Regions from separate parts of the Homo sapiens genome. Here all the other regions are linked to region 1. Evidence: promoter capture Hi-C in 16 types of primary human blood cells and fetal thymus (Javierre and others, 2016). All regions are on one chromosome and are shown on one strand. Each heading gives the region's core, a stretch centred on a gene start or on the middle of the fragment in contact. The rest is flanking DNA. Distances are from core to core; before and after follow the strand shown. Region 1 holds the start of CYBB (cytochrome b-245 beta chain). Region 2 has its middle 17 kb from the start of DYNLT3. Region 3 overlaps CYBB (cytochrome b-245 beta chain).

Region 1 (4,531 bases), core at 627-3,126:
AAAGATTAAAAATGGTACACCTGTATAAGGCACTTACCATGAGTAGAGCTTGGAGAACTAGAAGTTACTCTATGTGTCAGTGAGTGAGTGGTGAATGGATAGGAAGGCCTAGAACATTTTTGTACACTCCTATAGATTTTATGAACACTGTACACTTAGGCTATACTAAATATGCAAAACATTTTGTTTTTTCAATAATGAAATAAATTTAGCTTACTGTAACTTTTTATTTATAAACTTTTGCTTTTTTAATTTCTTGACTCTTTTGTAATAACCCTAAGCTTAAAACAAAAAAAATTTTACAGCTGTACAAAAATGTTTTAATATCCATATCTAGAAGCTTTATTCTGTTTTTAAATTTTTTATTTTTATATTTTACCTTTAAAACATTTTTGTTAAAAGCTAAGACACAAACATACACATTAGCCTAGGCCCACACAAAGTCAGGATCATTAATATCACTGTCTTCCACCTCCACATTTTGCCCCACTGGACAGTCTTCAAGGGCACTAACATGCATGAAGCTGTCATCTATGACAGCAATGCATTCTTCTGGAATACCTTCTGAAGGACCTGCCTGAGATTCTTTTACAGTTAACTTTTTTATAAGTAGGAGTATACTCTAAAATAATGATTAAAAGTATAGTCTAGTAAATAAATGAACCAGTAACATAGTCATCTATTTTTACTATCAAGTACTATGTAATGTACATAATTGTATGTGCTATACTTTTACAACTGGCAGCTCAGTAGGTTTGTTTACACCAGCATTGCCACAAACACATGAGTAATGTGTTATGCTACAATGTCACTAGATGGTAGGAATTTTTCAGCACACACACACAAGTATATATATTATATATTATATTATATATTATATATATATGTATATATATATATATATATATAGAGAGAGAGAGAGAGAGAGAGAGAGAGAGAGATGGAGTCTTGCTCTGTCGCCCAGGCTGGGGTGCAATGACACAATCTCGGCTCACTGCAACCTGACTCCCAGGTTCAAGTGATTCTCCTGCCTCAGCCTCCTGAGTAGCTGGGACTACAGGTGCCCACCACCATGCCCAGCTAATTTTTGTATTTTTAGTAGAGACGGGGTTTCACCATGTTGGCCAGATTGGTCCCAAACTCCTGACCTCAAGTGATCCACCCCACTCAGCCTCTCAAAGTGCTGGGATTACAGGCGTGAGCCACCGTGCCTGGCCAACACCATTATAATCTTATGGGACCACTGTCATACATGTGGTTCATCATTGGCCAAAGCATCTGTATTTATATATGTATGTTTCAAATTATATATATATATATATATATATATATATATATATATATGATAGCTATACATGAACATACACACACACATATATAGACATATATAGCACATAAAATTGGCACATATTAAGCATTTTGTAAATATCAACCATTACAATTGTTACTACTTTTCTCAGCAAGGCTATGAATGCTGTTCCAGCCTGTCAAAATCACACCTGTTTAATGTGTTTTACCCAGCACGAAGTCATGTCTAGTTGAGTGGCTTAAAAATTGTGATCAAATAGCTGGTTAGTTAAAAAGTTATTTCACTGTGTAAAATACATCCCTTAAAATGCACTGTTATTTATCTCTTAGTTGTAGAAATTGGTTTCATTTTCCACTATGTTTAATTGTGACTGGATCATTATAGACCCTTTTTTTGTAGTTGTTGAGGTTTAAAGATTTAAGTTTGTTATGGATGCAAGCTTTTCAGTTGACCAATGATTATTAGCCAATTTCTGATAAAAGAAAAGGAAACCGATTGCCCCAGGGCTGCTGTTTTCATTTCCTCATTGGAAGAAGAAGCATAGTATAGAAGAAAGGCAAACACAACACATTCAACCTCTGCCACCATGGGGAACTGGGCTGTGAATGAGGGGCTCTCCATTTTTGTCATTGTAAGTACCAACAAGAGATAAGTTATAAATTCTCTGACTTCTCGGGGTTATCTTGGAACTAAAATAGACCAAAGCTTTTTTGTTCATTTGAGGAATTGTGTTGAAACTGATTTACCATGTGAACCTATATCTATCTGTAAACAGACTGAGTCCATTCTTCCAAATTCCTTAATGGAAAGAACATATCTGGGGGCTCACTTCTAGCTTACTTCTGAATTCCTAGGAGGAATAAATTAGCCAGCATTTCGCAGAAGGAGTAGAAAATATTTCATGCTAATGATCTCTGATTCTGAGTTGTTTAGTAATGTTTACTCAGACGCACATGTCTATGTGTTTATACTACTTTAAAAATGACAAATTGAAATTTTATACCATTTTCTAAATAAAAAATATAAGATTGACTCATGTATGGGAAGTAGGCCTTTATTTCAGTAATTACACTAAATATAATAAAACTTCTCAAATTTATTTTCAAAAACAAGTACCTTCTTTTTTCAGAGATCTAAACTTGAGTTATTTATAAGATTTATAAAAATTCAAAAGAACAGAATTGAAATAAGTCATCTAGATTCATAAATATGTAGTATGTATATTTATATATAATTGTATATATATATAAATCAATATAGTCTGGAGAAACTATGTAAGTAAAGATATAGCTAATTTACAAGTGGACAGAATGATTTCTGTACTTTTTAAAACAAAGAAAATCAACTGTTCTCTTAAAATGGTGTTATCAGCAAAGCAATAATGGACAAATTGGGTAGATAGAAATACGATTTTTAAATAGCCTTTCTAAATAACCAATAGAAGCATTACACAGATGTTAAAAAGTACAATTATGAATGGAATATGAATGGAGCTTTTGTAAAAATTTATCATGAAAAATAATGAGTCTTTGAGTTTTAAATATAGAAAGCAATTAGTGGCACAAATAAAAACAACAAATATTTTGTTATAAAAAATGTTTACGCCAAACCAACATTCTACTGCAACAGAGAATTCTTCCGAGTATTCGAAGCTGTAAACTTAACTTCTTATCACCATTTTTAAGGGCAAATAATTTCTATAGAAAGTAAGTTCAAATTAAACTTTTAGCTCTCGCCACAATTTTTCCCAGGAAATGACCTCCTTCTAAATTATATACTCATGCACTTGAAAGTGAAAACACAGCTTGGAAAGTCAGAGTAAAGAAAGAATGACAAGATCAGGAAATTGGGAAGTTGCTTTAGCACTTTTTTCTTTGTAAAGAGAGAATATTATCAAGTGTCTAGAGCATATAATAGCTTCAAAGCATAGTTGAGAAAAGATCACTATGGAGCTGAAGGTAGAGAACTGGGTAGTGTGACCACTTGATCCAGTCAGTGCTTAGGATAAAATGAACTGTCATGATCTAGAAAGCTGTTTTTGTTGTAAATCCCAAGCCCCTCACTATGCTCAATATTCTCTCCTTGAAGCATTAAGTAAAACTAATCAAGGAAAATGGAAGGCTTGGCATTTTAGCTGATGAGAATTCACTAGCTGGATTACTGTGTGGTAGAGGGAGGTGATTAGCACCTGTGAGAACAGAACGCAGTGTCATACTGGTGGAGGGAAAGCAATAGTAATATGTTCCCTTCCTTTCTCATTTTAAGTGGAGTGGCCTGCTATCAGCTACCTATCCAAGGTTAAGCAAAAGAGAGGGGAAAAAAAGGGAGTGGGGTAATGTAAGACTGATAATTTGGTATACTGGCCAAATCATAAAACAATCATGGGGAACAACACAGGGTGGAGAGGTTTTAATTATAGACAAGTGTAGTGACACTGTTGAGGAAAGAGCTGGCTCTAAGCTGGTTATATCCAGCTTTGTCACTACCTTTGTCAAAGTTGGACTTGGGGAAGTCCTGACCCTTATCTGACTCCAGTCTTGTGTGGAATCTACTGTGGAAATGCGGAAACTTCATGCAATTATTTCTGTTTGTGCAGCTGGTTTGGCTGGGGTTGAACGTCTTCCTCTTTGTCTGGTATTACCGGGTTTATGATATTCCACCTAAGTTCTTTTACACAAGAAAACTTCTTGGGGTAAGTATAAATTCCATCCCATGCAATATTGGCTGGTTCACATTTCTCATCAGACATTCTTGTTCATCTTCCTGTTAGCATTTTAAATACATATTCTGACCAACCCAAACAGTACCATTAGCCTCACTCCCTCCATTGCAACTTCCTGGGCAACAGTCACTTAAAGCCTTCCAGTCTGGGACCAACAAAAGTGGGGCAGAGGGCCCCAGTGGCATCCTTCCCCAACCAAGAACCATGTGCCATTGTTTAGCTTAAAGGAGAAATCTAATACTCACTCTGAAATGGAAGGGCAGGTTGGAGCAATCCATCCAGGAGTGACACATGTGGGACAAGTGGGACTTTCCATATTTTCTAAGTCACCTAATTCCTAGTACTTTTTTGCATGAAGAGCTCTGCTCCTAATCACATGTTATGAAATGATCTTCAGAAAATAAATCTCTCTCTACATATAAAGACTCGAGGAACTTGCTCAAGGGCCACATCTGTTGACTAGGACAGTAGAGTGAAGGCCCTTCAGTTTCCTTGGGTCC
Region 2 (4,531 bases), core at 687-3,186, 50 kb after region 1:
CTGACCAGATGGCCCAATCAATAGAGGGAGCTGGGGTAGAGTGAGAGGGGCTACTAGAAGACTAAATCTGCAGGAGCTATGAAACGCCGACAAATTAATGACCCATGGGCTACATGTGACCCACAGACATGTTTCTTTTGGCCTGTATAATGTTGGGCTACAGAGTGTGTAAAAAAATATGACTCAGTGGTAAGCATTAAAGGAACAGTGCTTAATCCCCAACTTGTGATGTTTTCTTTCAGGTCGTTCTCTATGTACAGATTTATCAATTCATATAAAACCCCTGATATTTCTTTATTTCCTCACTCCTTCCATGAGAGGTAAAATGGCTCCTTTTTCCCTTTTTCTTTGTAGCTGGTTCACCAGCAGAGCACGTTTCTGCCTTCAACTGGGCAATAATTCAAATTCTGGAGTTTAACATTAGAAAGACTAGCTGCCCTGAGATAAGTTCCATTCTGGAACAGAAAGGTAATATTTTTATTTGAAGCTATCTTTATCTTTGTCTCCCAATTGATTCAGAATTAAACTAGGAAAGAGATGTACTATTGATTGGACCTCCTTAAACCCAAACACCATGTTCTAAAATATGGAAATTTTGAAATTGAGAGATTGTGCATCATAATTGATATTTCTGGATTTTTTGAAAAAACTGGAAGATTAACCCTGAGCCCTTGTTTCTAAATTGTGTGCTATCCAACTTATCACAGTCCTTACTATTCCCTATTATCTGATACCTAGAATGAGAGACCACTGACATTGAGCCTCATGTGATAATAAAATTGTAGTAGACAGAGTAATACACCCCCCACCATCACAAAGATGTCCACATTCTAATCCTCAGAACCTGTCAATATGTTCATGGCAAAAGGGATTTTGCAGGTGTGATTAAGTATAGGGACAATATCTGGGGTGGGCCCAATATAATCACGAGGTTCCTAATAAGGGAAATATGAAAACAAGAGGCTCAGAGTCAGAAATGATGGAAGCAGAGGTCAGAAAGGAACGGGATTTGAAGATACTACACTGCTACCTTTGAGGGTGCTAGAAGGAATCACTAGCCAAGGAATTTAAGTAGCCTCTAGAAAGTAGAAAAGGCAAGAAAAAGGATTCTCTCCTAGAAGCTCCAGAAAGGACACATCTCTGCTTATACCTTGATTTTAGATCAGTAAGACCATTTTGAACTTCTGGCTTCCAGAACTGTAAGTGAATAAATTTGTGTTGTTTTAGACCACCAAGTTTAAGTGGCAATCGGAAACCAATACAAAAGTTAAGGAGAAAGTCAAACACTTCTTATACTGGTACACCTATCACGAGAGGGAAAACAAATTAGATCAAGATGGCTATACATTTCAGTAATAATGTGAGAGAGTATTTCTTTGTTTTGTTTTGTTTTTAAGAGACAGTGTGTCACTCTGTCACCCAGGTTGCAGTGCAGTAGTGTCATTCACTCTAACTTCAAACTCCTGACTCAAGAAATCCTACTGCTTCAGCCTACCTAGTAGTTAGGACTACAGGTGCACACCACCACAGCCAGCTAACTTTTAAAATTTTTGTAGAAACCGTGTCTCACTATGTTGCCTAGACTGGTCTTGAGCTCCTGGCCCCAAGTGATCCTCAAGTCTCAGCCTCCCAAAGGGCTGGGATTACAGGCATGAGCTACCACTCCCAGCCTACATTGCTGATAGTTTAGCCAGCATCCAACACTCCCCTTACCTTTCATTAAAAGTACTCTGATTTTTGTTTAAGTATTTAATGCTCTCCCATATCTTTGATATACTTTAGGGAAAACTAATGCTTCTCTGGTCTAAATGTGATTCTATCCTTGCTACAATGAATCATTCAGGAGCCCAAATTTAAGAAAGTCAATGAATAGAATTTCCAGATTAAGAGATTGGCTCAATATTGGGTATGTGGCTTAATTTTGTTTTTTTTTCTTCCTGTATTCTTTCTAGCTAGTGACCTAATTTTTACCAGTGCAAGTCTGTGAAATTGTTTCCTGTTTCTGTATTACAAACAACCTCAAAACGTAATGGATTGGCAGAAGTCAATTGGAAGATTCTTTTGCTCCACATGGTGTAACAGAGTTACTAATGTGCCTGCATTTAGCTAGGAGTTTGGCAGGAGGTAGAAATTCCAAAGGTGGCTTTTTATTCTTTGGAGTCCATCTTCAGATGACTTCTCTTCATTCAGTAGTCTAACCTGAGCTTCTTTACGGTATGGTTAACAGATTCCAAGGAGGAGCATTCCAAGAGACAAGGATGCAAGAACACAAAGAGAAAAATACAATGTGTAAATAAACTTTTGCTTTTTCATCATATGTCTCATTGGCCAAAGCAAGTCATATGTCCAAGTTCAGAGTCAATGAAGAAAGTGACTACACAAGGGCATGAATACCAGGAGAAGAGATTTATTGCAGGCCACTATCCACCACAGGAATGCTTAGCAGAGGTTTAAGGGAAAGAAATTTTCTTATTTTTAACTATTCAAATATATTTTCTTTCTTCCTCTATTCAATATGGTATACGAATGGGAAGCCTGGATCTGCTTTAGCCATTTTTGCACAATGATGAAAATCAGGCTAAGGATAAAGTCAACTAACAGAGTAGGCTAGGCTAAGGATAAAGTCAACAAACAGTGGGACACAAATGAAGCAATCACAGAGAAACAGACCTTAGGCCACAGGATTAAGTCAACCTGAAATATGTTTTATTTCTGGACTTCCAAATAAGTTAATTAAAAGCATTCTAACTATACAGCAAGTGAATTCCATTACTGCATATTTAACATGCAAAAGATGTCTGTTGACAGAGTATAACTTAAAGTGCCATTATGAAACAAATCATAAGAACTATGATAGAAACATGGAAGTGTTTAATAATAAAAATAATAAACTAAAAAAAAAGAACTGAAATGTCAACAGTGTTTGCTTTGGAAAGCAAATTGGTGATGCTATTAGGAAGTACAGTTATTTATAAAGTAAAAAAAAAAAAATTGCTTGTGCAGGAAGCCCTTTTAGATACAGCATATATAGAGTTTGAGGTGGAGTCAGAAGGCCATTTAGAAGCCTCCATCTGGCCAGGCCTGATGACTCACACCTGTAATCCCAGCACTTTGGGGGACTGAGTGGGGCAGATCACTTGAGGTCAGGAGTTAGAGACCAGCCTGGCCAACGTGGTGAAACACTGTCTCTACTAAAAATACAAAAAATAGCCCAGCGTGGTGGTGCGTGCCTGTAATCCCCACTACTCAGGAGGCTGAGGCAGGAGAATTATTGCTTGAACCTAGGAGGCAGAGGTTGCAGTGAGCTGAGATCGTGCCACTGTACTCCAGCCTGGGCAACAGAGCGAGACTCCATCTCAAATAATAATAATAATAATAATAATAATAGTAATAATGGTGGCCAGGTGTGGTGGCTCACGCCTGTAATCCCAGCACTTTAGGAGGCCAAGGCAGGCGGATCACCTGAGGTCAGAAGTTCAAGACCAGCCTGGCCAACATGGTGAAACCTTGTCTCTACTAAAAATACAAAAATTAGCAGGGCATGGTGGCAGGTGCCTATAATCACAGCTACTTGGGAGGCTGAGGCCAAACACCGCATGTTCTCACTCATAAGTGGGAGTTGAACAATGAGAACATATGGGCACAGGGAGGGGAACATCACACACCGGGGCCTGTCGGGAGGTAGAGGGATAGGGTAGGGATAGCATTAGGAGAAATACCTAATGTAGATGACGGGTTGATGGGTGCAGCAAACCACAATGGCACATGTATACCTATGTAACAAACCTGCACATTCTGCACATGTATCCCAGAACTTAAAGTATAATAAAAAATAAAATAAATTTTTAAAAAAATCTCTGGACACATGTTTCTCTTCTGACATTATAGGCTCTGAAGTAAGAACCACAGTCGTCATACAAACCTGGGGAGTGTTGCGCAGGCATTTCCTTCCTACTCACGGCTGTGCCGTCAGTGCATTATTAATCAAAGCTTGTTCAATCAACACTCTCTCCTGCCAACCTGTTCAACACAATCTGACATTTGCTAAATGTGCTTCAAAGAAAAAAGAAGGAAAACACATGGCAAAATATATGAAAAATATTTAACTTCACTAGTAACAGTAGTAATCAGAGAAATGCAACTATAGCAAGATACCTATCAAATTGGCAACAATGAAAAAGTATAGCAATACCATTTTGGTAAATATATGGAGAAATAGTACCTTCTAGAGGGAATGTAAAATGATGCAACAACTTCAGAGGGTACTTTGGCATTACACTGCATTTAATAAAGAATGAGATAGCTATAGATGTTGATTTAGCAATATCTAGCTACGTACTCTAGAGAAATCCATATATGTGCACAAGAAGACTTGTCCAAAAATGACTAGTGCAGCATGGTCAATAGTAATAAGCAACATAAATGTCCCTCTGCAGGAGAATGGATGAATGGATGCACTGGAATATTATACCTCAGTTAAAATGAATGACATAGAGTATATGTATCAACATGACTAAATCTTTAAATTACA
Region 3 (4,531 bases), core at 632-3,131, 33 kb after region 1:
CAGTTTACTAATACAGCAGGGTAACTGGGCCAGATGTTCTTTCTACAGAAGAATATTGGATTGATTGGAGTTAATGTAATACTCATCATTTACCACTGTGCTTGGCAGAGAGCGGATACTCAAGTAAGTTTTGTTAAATGAATGAATGAATTTAGAACCACACAATGCCAAGATAGAATTAATTTAAAGCCTTAAACAAAATTTATCTAAAGAAATAACTTCTATTACTGTCATAGACCAAAGGAATCTGATTCTCCCTAGGGTCAAGAACAGGCTAAGGATACTAACCAATAGGATTGCCTGAAGGGTTCTGCACATTCTTATTTGAAGCATGAAAAAAGAGGGTTGGAGGTGGAGAATTAACCTCCTGCCATGACTCTGGCTCATCTAGTCCTGCTCCTTGTGCTATAAAATAAATGCAGACTAATTTCCTGCCCAAAGTGGTCTTCTCCAGCTAGCCCTTATGAATATTGAACTTAGGAATTGTGACAAATATGTATCTGATATGGTCATTTGTTTTAAATAACACCCACCCCTTATTTTCCGTAAATACACACACAAAATGGATCGCATCTGTGTGACTAATGGTTTATTTGTATTATATCATCATCATCATCCTAAAATTAACAACCCAGAAACAAAAATCTCTATACAGAGATCAAATTCACACTCAATAGTATGTTCTGAATATATGTTCAAGAGAGAGTCTCTAAATCACTGTTAGTGTGGCCAAGAGCAGGGTTTTCTTTTTGTTCTTAGAACTGCTCCCATTTCTGGGAACTAAAACCAGTTTTATTTGCCCCACCCCTTGGAGCCACAAATGTTTAGAACTCTTCAACTTCGGTAATGAGGAAGAAGGAGAAAGAGCTGGGGGAAGGGCAGAAGACTGGTTTAGGAGGAAAAGGAAATAAGGAGAAAAGAGAATGGGAGAGTGAGAGAAAATAAAAAAGGCAAAAGGGAGAGAGAGGGGAAGGGGGTCTCATATTGGTCATTCCCTGCCCCAGATTTCTTAAAGTTTGATATGTATAGAATATAATTGAAGGAGGTATACACATATTGATGTTGTTTTGATTATCTATGGTATTGAATCTTTTAAAATCTGGTCACAAATTTTGATGCTGAGGGGGATTATTCAAGGGACTAGGATGAACTAAATAAGAACTCAGTTGTTCTTTGTCATACTACTATTCCTTTCGTCTCCCAGAATCCTCAGGGCACTGAGGGTAGGTCTGACAAATAAGGCCTGCTGTGCGAATATAGCCTTTCTGAAATGTACCAGGATGGTTTCTGCTTAGAGACACTTAGGTCCAGCCTGTTCACACTGCACCTCAGGTATCAATTCATCTATTCAACAGATATTTATTGTGTTATTACTATGAGTCAGGCTCTGTTTATTGTTTCAATTCTTTACACCAAAGTATGAACTGGAGAGGGTACCTCAGTTATAAGGAGTCTGAGAATATTGGCCCTTTCTAACCTATGTGCATAATTAAAACCAGCTTCATTTGTTGCTCCGAGAGTGTTTCTCCAAGGTTTTCTATCTTCAAAACCAACTAAGTTATGAAAGTAGAGAGATCTGCCCTGTGTTATCCAGTTATGAGATAAAAAATGAATATAAGAGTGCTTGTCATTATAAAAGTTTCCTTTTTTATTCTCTCAAGCCACCAGCTGCCAGCCACCAGCAGCCAGCTGCCAGCCTAGCTTTTTTTTTTTTTTTTTTTTTTTAGCACTTAGTATTTAGCATTTATTAACAGGTACTCTAAGAATGATGAAGCATTGTTTTTAATCTTAAGACTATGAAGGTTTTTCTTAGTTCTTCTGCTTTTGCAATTGTGTTTGTGAAATTTGAATACTTGCAGGCTTTGTATGTGAATAATTCTAGCGGGGGACCTGGGAGATAATTCCTACGGGGAATTCTTAAAACTGTGCTCAACTATTAAAATGAATGAGCTTTCTTTGTGTCTGTGTTACTGATCTTTGTATTAAAGGGTAAATTCAGCTAGTAACAATTTTCTCTACCCCGGTGGGGTTGAGACACTCTGTGTTTCTGTATATGATATGCCAAACACTTCATGGTTTATGGATTGGGAAGTGAAAGCTGAAGACTAAGTTCTGTGCTGAATACTGTTGATCCTCACAACACTAATATAAGGGACAGGGAGGGCAACTTAATGTCATAGACAGAATTTCAGAAACGAAGAAGCCCCAGTGTGACATCTTTGTTCCACGTCTACTGAACTTTCATGTTCTAACTTCACAATTGAGTATCATCAATTGTGGGCAATATGGGCAATTGTGGGCAATTGTGAGCAATTGTGGGCATATATGCTCATGCTTCTGTGATAGCCCTTGTTCTAAATGAGTCAACCGGTTACGATCTCCACTATTTAGGAAATGCATAGGGGTGTGGGCATGACATGTTCCTGTGGGAGTCAACAGGTGCTGCCATGGAGGGAAAGGACATTACCTAAAATAAATGGCAGTAATAGAAATAGCCAACATTTGGTAAACACCTCCTACTATGCCGAACATTTTACATACACTTTATTTAATCCCTCAGCAACACTACAAGGTAGCCGTTTTATCCTAATTTTGTTGATAAGAAAACAGTCTGAACGAAGATGAATGAGAAGGAAAAGTACCCATAACTATTGGGTGACTATGTCAACATTCAATCCACATCTTTCTGGGGACAAACTCCATGTCCTTTATACTACACTAGCAGATTACACTAGGTATAAAAAATTAAGGATATTTTCTTTCTCTCTCTCTCTCTCTCCTTTTTGTTTGAGACGGAGTTTTGCTCTTGTTGCCCAGGCTGGAGTGCAATGGCACGACCTCAGCTCACCGCAACCTCTGCCACCCGGGTTCAAGCGATTATCCTGCCTCAGCCTCCTGAGTAGTTGGGATTACAGGCATGCGCTACCGCGCCTGGCTAATTTTGTATTTTTAGTAGAGACGGGGTTTCTCCATGTTGGTCAGGCTGGTCTCAAACTCCCAACCTCAGGTGATCCACCGGCCTCAGCCTCCCAAAGTGCTGCGATTACAGGCATGAGTCACCGCACCCGGCCAAAAACTAAGGATATTTTCAAAGCAATTATGCTAGGTACAAATTATGTACCAAGAATAGCTGGGTAACAGTGGTAACATAAATCTCTAGTTTATACCATTTAAGTAGCTTGGTATCTTAGTTTAGAAACACTGGTTAATCTGATTCATGCTCATTTTTACTTTTAAATTATGATAAAATAGAACCTATCAAAAAATGGAATTATTTTGCTTGGAGAAAAGAAGGCTGTAGGGTGACTCAATAATATTTATTAAGTCTACTTTTTCATTTATATTTATTTTATTTATAAACAATTTCTGTCTTTCAGAGAATGGCCAGCTGTTGTCTATAGTTTTGTGTGTGTGTGTGTGTGTGTGTGTGTGTGTGTGTGTGTCTGTGTGTAATAAGATTGCATGAGGAAGGAGCTAAATTTCTCAACCATAAATTCAGTTGGGCAAAAAACAAAGTGTTGACAGAGGCTAGGAAATCTGACCACTAGAGATTTTTAAAACCTGGAAAAATGATCAACCAAGTGGCCTGAGATTCATTTAAACTTGTAGCCTTTATTATCTTGTTGTAGTGGTTGGGGAATGAGGTAGTCTAAGTAATTGGATATTCCAGTTAATACTTATTGCTAATAGATTCATAATTTTCAAGGAAGTGGGATGCTATAAATTATAAGAAGAAACTAAATCCTGAAATACACTTCTTCTTGGATTTAAAAAATACTAGGAAATGTTGTACATGAGCAGAGGCCACTGTGAGCTTATTTTCTAGATTTTACTCTGAAGAACTAATGACATGAAGACTGTGCTTATCTGACTTTTGAAAATAGCCCGAAGTATTTTCTTCCTACTTCATAGAGGACTGCTCCAAAGACAGCAAACTTGATTTATATAAGAAATAAAGTCCAAAAGATCTTCATAAATCTTAAAATTACATTCGATTATAAAGAAATCACCAAGTTTAGCATTATGTTAGATCCCTTGATTGCTAAATATCACTTCCTCTTTTCAGTAATAATAAAATCACTAACCTACTTATGCTCATAGAAAACACTAAACATCACTTTTTCTGATCAGATGAGGGCAAGTCAGGGCATAAGGAATGAAAACGACTTCGTTATTTCCAAGAGATTCTAGGGCAATTCTTAGAAATCTTTATGTCGATTGATAAGAAAAAAAAATTATGCTACCTAAACATCTCTTGGGAATAGCAAATGTGCTTGCATTGGCTGAAAACCATCAGGGAACACTATTAACATGGGAGTTATTCCAGACCAAGCTATTGGAGATCAGCACAGCTATCTGATTATCCTGTTTTCCAGGTGGGGGCTCTGCATAACTCGCGGCTAAAATATCACACTCACATCTATGTTATCAACTTCCTGCTGCATTCCTTACCCAGTGCTTATTCCGCTGGGACAAACATGCCTATGGCTTTACTGAGATCGAAGGCAACAGCAAGCTTGACCATGCCCAA

Evidence for each region. Contacts are between HindIII fragments. The CHiCAGO score rates a contact against its expected background, and 5 or more counts as called.
Region 2: a fragment that was not itself captured here is called in contact with the fragment with the promoter of CYBB in region 1 in 2 of 17 cell types (total B cells and naive B cells); the score reaches 7.7 in total B cells.
Region 3: a contact is called between a fragment that was not itself captured here and the fragment with the promoter of CYBB in region 1, in 2 of 17 cell types (naive B cells and total B cells). The highest score is 10.4, in naive B cells.

The regions. Positions count from the first base shown.
Region 1 is chrX:37,778,183-37,782,713 of GRCh38, forward strand. CYBB (cytochrome b-245 beta chain) reads left to right here and starts at 1,877. Exons shown (of 13, transcript NM_000397.4): 1 at 1,877-1,940; 2 at 3,906-4,001. The coding sequence starts at 1,896. RefSeq lists an enhancer at 1,919-1,968. The HindIII fragment of the contact is 266 bases long and covers 1,747-2,012 here.
Region 2 is chrX:37,827,928-37,832,458 of GRCh38, forward strand. No RefSeq gene overlaps it. Among named protein-coding and RNA genes, the nearest start is that of DYNLT3, 17 kb to the right of the region's middle. The HindIII fragment of the contact is 4,104 bases long and covers 1-3,988 here.
Region 3 is chrX:37,811,507-37,816,037 of GRCh38, forward strand. CYBB (cytochrome b-245 beta chain) reads left to right here. Exons shown (of 13, transcript NM_000397.4): 13 at 1-1,955. Among named protein-coding and RNA genes, the nearest start is that of CYBB, 34 kb to the left of the region's middle. RefSeq lists an enhancer at 2,234-2,433. The HindIII fragment of the contact is 5,265 bases long and covers 1-4,514 here.